Regions from separate parts of the Homo sapiens genome. Here region 1 is linked to region 2. Evidence: promoter capture Hi-C in 16 types of primary human blood cells and fetal thymus (Javierre and others, 2016). All regions are on one chromosome and are shown on one strand. Each heading gives the region's core, a stretch centred on a gene start or on the middle of the fragment in contact. The rest is flanking DNA. Distances are from core to core; before and after follow the strand shown. Region 1 overlaps PHF6 (PHD finger protein 6). Region 2 holds the start of MIR106AHG (miR-106a-363 cluster host gene).

Region 1 (3,845 bases), core at 400-2,899, 220 kb after region 2:
ATTTTTGTGAGTACAGAGTAGGTGTGTATTTATGGGGTACATGAGATATTTTGATACAGGCACACAATGTGAAATAAGTACATCATGGAGAATGGGGTATCCATCCCTATTTCAAACAATCCAAGTTAAGCTGAGGATTGAGACTATGTTATGCTGTATGTTAAGCTGAGAATTGAGACTCATGATCTGATGAATACAAGTATGAGCACACTGAGACAGGATATTTGAGATAATTAAGAAGGATGATTAATATATACTGATTATGTAGATAGCTCCCATTTTATTCCCTGGATTTCTGAAGCTGACAGTACCATCTAGTGGTAGGGAGAAGTCACTGCAAACTATATAAAGTAGAATAATTTTGGCCATGTTTTAGCACTGTGACACTTAATAGAGATCTAAATTCATACTTTTCAAGACAACTTTTCTTTTACTGTAACTGGCAGCATTATTATAACTTCAGATTTGTGCTACAATTAATTTGAATTTGGGATTCGATGTGTACGTCTATAGAACAATGGGCGGGGGGCTTGTATCATTTTTATATATAGTGTGTTTATACTCATTGTGGACCTTGAAAGAATAATTTTATAATTTAAAGTATTAAAGCTTTATATTTATTGATTTCTGGCTTTTATCACATTGATCTAGCTCAAATTTAGTTGATTTTGAGTGCTTTGTCAGAAACAGAACTTCCAATTATTCCATTGTTCTAATGGGAAACATATGTTCTCCTTTACGATCATGGTTTATGATGGGAGGTTATAGGATTGTATTTCAGGGACTGTCTTTTAAGAATTGTACTGCACTAAAAAAAAAAAAAAAAGAATTGTACTGCACTAGTCTCCAGAACAAAGATGAATTAATATCTATGGTAATGTCTTGGTCATTTGCCATCTGTGGCTCAATACTTACTTTGCTAATACTTAATATGATAAATGCTATTAATATATAATTCATTCTGCCATGTTAGCTTTATATAAAATGAGCTGTTTTGAAATATTAAATTTGAGAATAATTGCATAATATAGCAATTCAATTTTCCCATCACAAATAAAATATTATTGAATATTAAATACCTAAAACCTATGTCATCAGTTTTGCTTCAGGAAAAAATGGACTGTGAATTTGAAAAGCAATTTTAAAAATCTATATGGAGTTTATAACTATCATTATGTCACTAGGTTATTAGAATGCCCGTCCCAGGAACTGTATGTATTTACCTGTTAGTGGTGATGGGCTTAGATAAGTTGCCTATAAAATGATTCGAAACATATAAGAAAGCATTTCTGGGCTGGCACGGTGGCTCACTCCTGTAATCCCAGCACTTTGGGAGGCCAAGGCTGGTGGATCACCTGAGGTCAGGAGTTGGAGACCAGCCTGGCCAACATGGTGAAACCCCGTCTCTACTAAAAATACAAAAATTAGCTGGGTATGGTGGCACACATCTGTAATCCCAGCTACTCAGGAGGCTGAAGCGGGAGAATTGCTTGAACCCAGGAGGCGGAGGTTGCAGTGAACTGAGATTACGCCATTTGCACTCCAGCCTGGGTGACAGAGCAAGACTTGGTCTCCAAAATAAAAAGAAAGCATTTCTGATAAAAAAAATATCTCCCCTATCAATGGTGACAGTTAACTGAGGACAGAGTCCTTCCGGAATTATATACAAGCTAGTAAATATATTTCAGCTACTATTTTCCAGGCCTGTTAGGTAATTGGAGATATAGGGATAAATTAGATGGGTCTCTGCCCCAAAGAGCTTGAAGTCTAATATGAGAGATGTACATTAAATAAATAGTTGCACAATTAATAGGTTACAATTGTAATAAATGCCATGAATGAGAAATTAGAGTGCCATGAGCAAATGTTTGGGGGGACCTATGAGGAAATTTCATTTAAATTAAGTCTTAAAAGACTAAAGAGGATTGGAGGCACATTCTATGCAGAAGGAACAGGATCTTTGAAGACTTAGACAGGAAGGAACTTGATGCTTCCAAGGAATTGATAGAAAGCTATGTAAGTAAAAGATAGATAGAGGCAGGCATGGTGGTTCATGCCTGTAATCCCAGCATTTTGGGAGGCTCCAGTGAGGAGATGGCTTGAGGCCAGGAGTTTAAGACCAGCCTGGACAACATAGCGAGACCCTCTCTCTACAAAAATTTTAAAAATTAGCTGAGTATGGTGTGCACCTGTAGTCCCAGCTACTCGGGAGGCTGAGGCAGGAGGATTACTTGAGCCCAGAATTTCAAGGCTGCAGGGAGCTACAATCATGCCACTGCACTCCAGCCTAGGCAACAGAGTGAGACCCTGTCTCTTATTCAAACAAACAAAAATGATAGGTAGAGTGGCATATGAGGTTGGGAGAAGAATACATGGGCCACAATGGTAGGGATTTTGAATATTATCCTAAGAACAGCAAGAGGTAATTGAGGGTTTTAAGCAAAGAGAATGGCTTGTTGCAGGAATCCTGGTTAGTAGTGATAGAAGGCTTGGACTAGAGTTGTAACTACGGAGATGAGCAGAAGTAGACAAATTTGAGAGAGTGTTTGAAGATAGAATTGATGGGACTTAGTAGGTGCATCCAATATAGGGATAAGGGAAAAGAGATATTGGAGATGACTCCAAGGTTTCTGGCGTATCCAAATGGGTGACGGAGGGTGCCACTTGCTTAGATAACAGGAGAGGTAAAGTAAGCTTATGGGGAAAGTTGATGAGTTAAGTTTGAAAGATCAAGTTTGAGGTACCTATGAGCTAGCTAAGTGGGGATATCAGAGAAGCAGATGGATTGATTATATGGTTCTTGTTCTCAGAATAGAGATCTTGGCTAGAGATAGAAATTTGCCAAGTGTGAGTATAGATAATTGCATCCTTGTGAGTGGAGGAAAAATCCCCTAAGGAGAGCGTTCAGAAGAGGAAAGGGCCTAGGACTGAGCCTTGAGGAACTTTAACAATTAAAGGCTTGGTATAGAAGGATGGGCCTGCAAAGGGAGAGAAAAAGAATGGCTAGAGAGGTAGGAGGAAAGTCAGATTAGTGTTACATCCTGGAAACCAAAGGAAGGAAGAGAGTAGTTCCTGAAGGAACCAAATGGTCAACTTCGTGGGCTGTTGAAAAAGTATCCATTGGATTCAGTGACAACGGAGCCATGGGTGACCTTAGAAAATAGATTGGGTAGAGTAATAGGGGTAAAAGCCGTATTGATATGCACCTCGATAAATGGGAAGTGAGAAATTGGAGATTTGTGGCATGGCATGTTACATACATGTCAAAATCCATAGAATGTACCACACTAAGAGTACCCTAATGTAAACTGTGGACTTCAGGTGATAATAATATGCCTATATTTGTTCATCCATTGTAACAAATGTACCACTCTGGTGTAGGATGTTAATAGTAACACGGGTAAGCCTCCTAATATGTTTGCTTGTAAAGGGGCAGGGAATAGTTAGAAGGAAGTTAAAGGGTGGCTTTTTTCCCTTAATTAATAGACTTTATTTTTAGAACAGTTTTAGGTTTATAGCAAAATTGAGCACAAAGTACAGAGTTCCTGTATATCTCCTGTTCCCCAACCCCTAACATACACACACACACACACAGACACACACACACACAGACACACACACACACACACACACAGCCTATCCACTATTAACATCCCACACCAGAGTGGTACGCTTATTACAATGGATGAAGCAATATTGGCACATCATTATCACCCAAAGTCCATAGTTTAAATTAGTGCACTCTTGGTGTGGTACATGCTATGGGTTTTGACATGTGTATAATGACACGTACCTACCATTACAGTATCATACAGAATCATTTCACTGCCCTGAAAATCCCCTGT
Region 2 (3,336 bases), core at 381-2,880:
CCGTCCCCTTGGCCCTCTGTCCGTAGCTATATCCCTGGGAAAAGCCCGCCCCTCTGCCTTTAATAGCCCAAGGAAAAAAGCCCGCCCCCGCCCACCCGGCCCGCACAGGAATTAGGAAACGGAACCCCCACCCCGCCAAAGCGAAAACCCCACCGAGCCCCAGTTACCCACGGGCGGACCGCAGTCGGCATTTTCCCTTCTCTCTTCCCCCAAGCTGGAGTCCTTAATTAAAGGCGCGCCTGGGACAGCGGCCCAGGCAGAGGCCGTGGCCGGAGCCGGTGCGGGTGCCACCGGCATCCGGGCCAGGATGGCGCACTCACTACCACCTTGTCCCATCTCGCTCCCGCGGCGCTCGCCTCAGCCCCCCACCGGAGACAGACGACGAGGCCCACGGAGCCGTGGGACAGGGGTGTCCCCCACCCGGCGCGCGCATGCGCGCCACCTCGCCGCTAGATTGAAAGTGTTCCTAAGGCCCGAGGAGGGAAGAAATAGAAACACGACTTACTCTCTGCACATGTGAAAGTTTTAACCCCTAGCACCTTGTGCTACTGTTGGGAGGCTTTCGCCCTTGCCAGGCGCCCTCTTCACCCACTAAATCAGGGTTTCTTGGCAGGTATCGTTAACGGTAGCAGCCACCGAATACACGCGCAAATGTGCGGAAGATACGGTGCAATTATCTTGCTTTCTCCTCTCATTCCACCGCTAATGAGAACCAATTGAGGGCGGGCTGCTTCAAGGCCAAAGCCCGACAGCGCTCTGTAGAATAAAATGATGTCTTAGTTTAAGACGCACAATCAAAATGGAATTAAGCATACCAGACTTTGAACACCGGGCAAAATGAGAGACAACCGGGCTATATACCTTCTCCGCGTCCCTGGCGGACACAGGCGCAAGATGGGATTTGGGGAGCGTGCGGGGGTTGGGGGGGTGGGCGGGGGTGTGCAGGGTACGAGGTTACAAATCAGAGACCAGTGAGCACGCTGGGTCGGAGGAGGAAAGCCCTGGAAGGCAAGCGGGGGGCAAGGAAGGAGGGAAGGGGTGCAAAATGAAGCCGGACCCCTCCCTTTCCACCATTGTTACCAGGGTGATTGTGGCAGCCCAAAGCCCAGAAGAGGACAAGGGCGCCATGTGATTCTCAACCTGGTGCACTGGTGCACAGTAGTAGCTCAGGCAAACATTACAAAAGACTGGCCTCTCCCGCCCCTGGCCCGCGAAAGAGTCCAACCTGAACTGCCAGCGCCCCTCAGGAGTCAGCGGTGGATGCAACGAAAACCACAATCATTTCTCCAACGCGAGTCACTCGCACAGGTGGGCTTCCTCCCCTTTTTCATGCAACAGACCTTGCAGCCTACCCTGGCACGTCTGCGTGATACTTTCTGGAAACTACGCAGCCCGAAGTTTACTACCCAACCAGATCCCTCCTGTGAGATTGCACCGACTGCAATGCAACTTTCGACCTTTAATGGTAACGACTAGCAGTGGAAAGAAGAGGAGGGGGAGGGAAGAGAACTTAGACCCGACTTTAAGAAGCGTTGTATTAAAGCAAGATAAGAACAGTACCTTTGAGCTGGAGCAAAACCTGGAGTAAAAAAAAGGGTTTTTGCGAAAGTGGCGCGAAGATAATATCATGTGATCCGACCCCAGGGCGTCTCCTTCCCCTTTTGCCAAACTCCCCTCCCCTCGAAAAAAGGGGGGTTGGGGGAGCTACATCCGCTCCTCACAAACTATTAGCATAATTAATTGTGTCCTACAGCTGCAGCCAGAGCTCCCGGGTCAATGAGTAAACATATCCTCATCCTCTTCAACATCAGAACAAAAAAACCCATTACCCTGATTTTGGAAAATGTTCCCAAATAAATCTCATTATCTTCAAAAGTCTTTATTTGGTATTCGGAGTCTATGTGTCTTGGTTGGAGAGACAGAAGAAGGTTGGAAAAGATGAAATCATCCTATTAAAGGGAACAAGTAGAAGTAACTCCCCAAGAGTGACATATTTAAGTAAAGGTTTTCAAATGGAAATACCGTGTTGAGGGACTTCACTAGCTTAAAATTTTCCAAAAGTTTTAGCAGTTCATTAAACAAGACATCCTCCCAGTCTTCCTATTCGCCACCCCCCATCTCCCACCCCTCCTCCCAGTCCTCCTTCCCTTTAAAGCTAGAACAATACCCGGAATAAGGTATTTTGAGATTGCTTTACCAGGATATTTTCTTGTTCTTAATTTTTTTTAAGGGTTTGCAACATATAGAATGTCTGGATCAAGTTCCCAACTGGCGAAAATAATTTATTCCATCTCAGTACCTGTCTAGCACAAGGTAAAACTAACTAAGTACAAGATATAGGTTATGAGAAACTAGGACATTTTGATACACCAAATGATTTATTTTTGTCTCTTTCTTTTGGAAAAAAAATTTAATCATCGGCCAAAATACCTAGAGAATCAAAAAAATCTAAAGAACAAAGCATTTCACACACACCCCCCCCAAAAGTCAGAATAACTAACAGCTCAAAGAAAAGCACGTGATCCCTTCATGCTTTAAAACTTGTGGTCATGCTGAGGCTAAAAGCAAAGAGCTTGTGACCCCGCAACCCCGTCCCCTCCCCCAGACCACAGCCCAGGGCTTAAGGCTCCAGGCTCCCACCGGGCTCCTGCTCGCTCCCAGTATTGTGAGACAAACAATACTTAGGCATTCTGCAAAATAAAGGAGCCACAACTCCTATCCCCCAGTCACATCATTTATGACCAAACAGACTGGCCGGTGTGCGTATATACGCATGTATGTAAATATGATATAGAATACATGCCTACACGAAAGCCCAGATGTTCTGTCAGAATGTGTAAGAAAGGTATGGAAACTGGCCAAAGGGAGGGAGAACTTGTTATCTTTCGTGAGCCTAAGGATTCTCATCACAACTTTAAATTCTTGACACTATTTTGAGTTTATGATGGATTCAAAGAAAAACGGTGAATGCCCAGCAAAATATTCCCCTCAAAATAGACCCACTTTGAGCTTTCCTCTGCCTTGAAAAGGGGTGAAGGGATTCTTCTGTATTGACCTCTAGATTTAATTATGCCATATAAAGCAGCAATCTCAAGTAGTTTGGATTTGAACACCTTTAAGAATAAAATTGACATTTTACCCAGTTGAGAAATCATGTTACTTGATTTAGAAATAATATTAAGTGGCTTTGTTAAACCTAATGATTGGTATCTTAGAACAAAAAGGTCCCCATGGAAACCAGAAAGTAATTTAAGAGTATTATGTTCCTCACACAACTAGAATAGAGCTTTTGTTCTATGTGTATTTACTACTCTACATTTTTGAACTACACTTGCA

Evidence for each region. Contacts are between HindIII fragments. The CHiCAGO score rates a contact against its expected background, and 5 or more counts as called.
Region 1: a fragment that was not itself captured here is called in contact with the fragment with the promoter of MIR106AHG in region 2 in 1 of 17 cell types (activated CD4 T cells); the score reaches 5.3 in activated CD4 T cells.

Annotation. Positions count from the first base shown.
Region 1 is chrX:134,396,076-134,399,920 of GRCh38, forward strand. All of the region lies in intron 5 of PHF6 (PHD finger protein 6), which reads left to right. Among named protein-coding and RNA genes, the nearest start is that of PHF6, 25 kb to the left of the region's middle. The HindIII fragment of the contact is 2,085 bases long and covers 608-2,692 here.
Region 2 is chrX:134,172,458-134,175,793 of GRCh38, forward strand. It overlaps MIR106AHG (miR-106a-363 cluster host gene), which reads right to left and starts at 1,631. Exons shown (of 2, transcript XR_007068340.1): 1 at 1-1,631. RefSeq lists an enhancer at 1-503 and a silencer at 2,462-2,756. The HindIII fragment of the contact is 10,100 bases long and covers 1-3,336 here.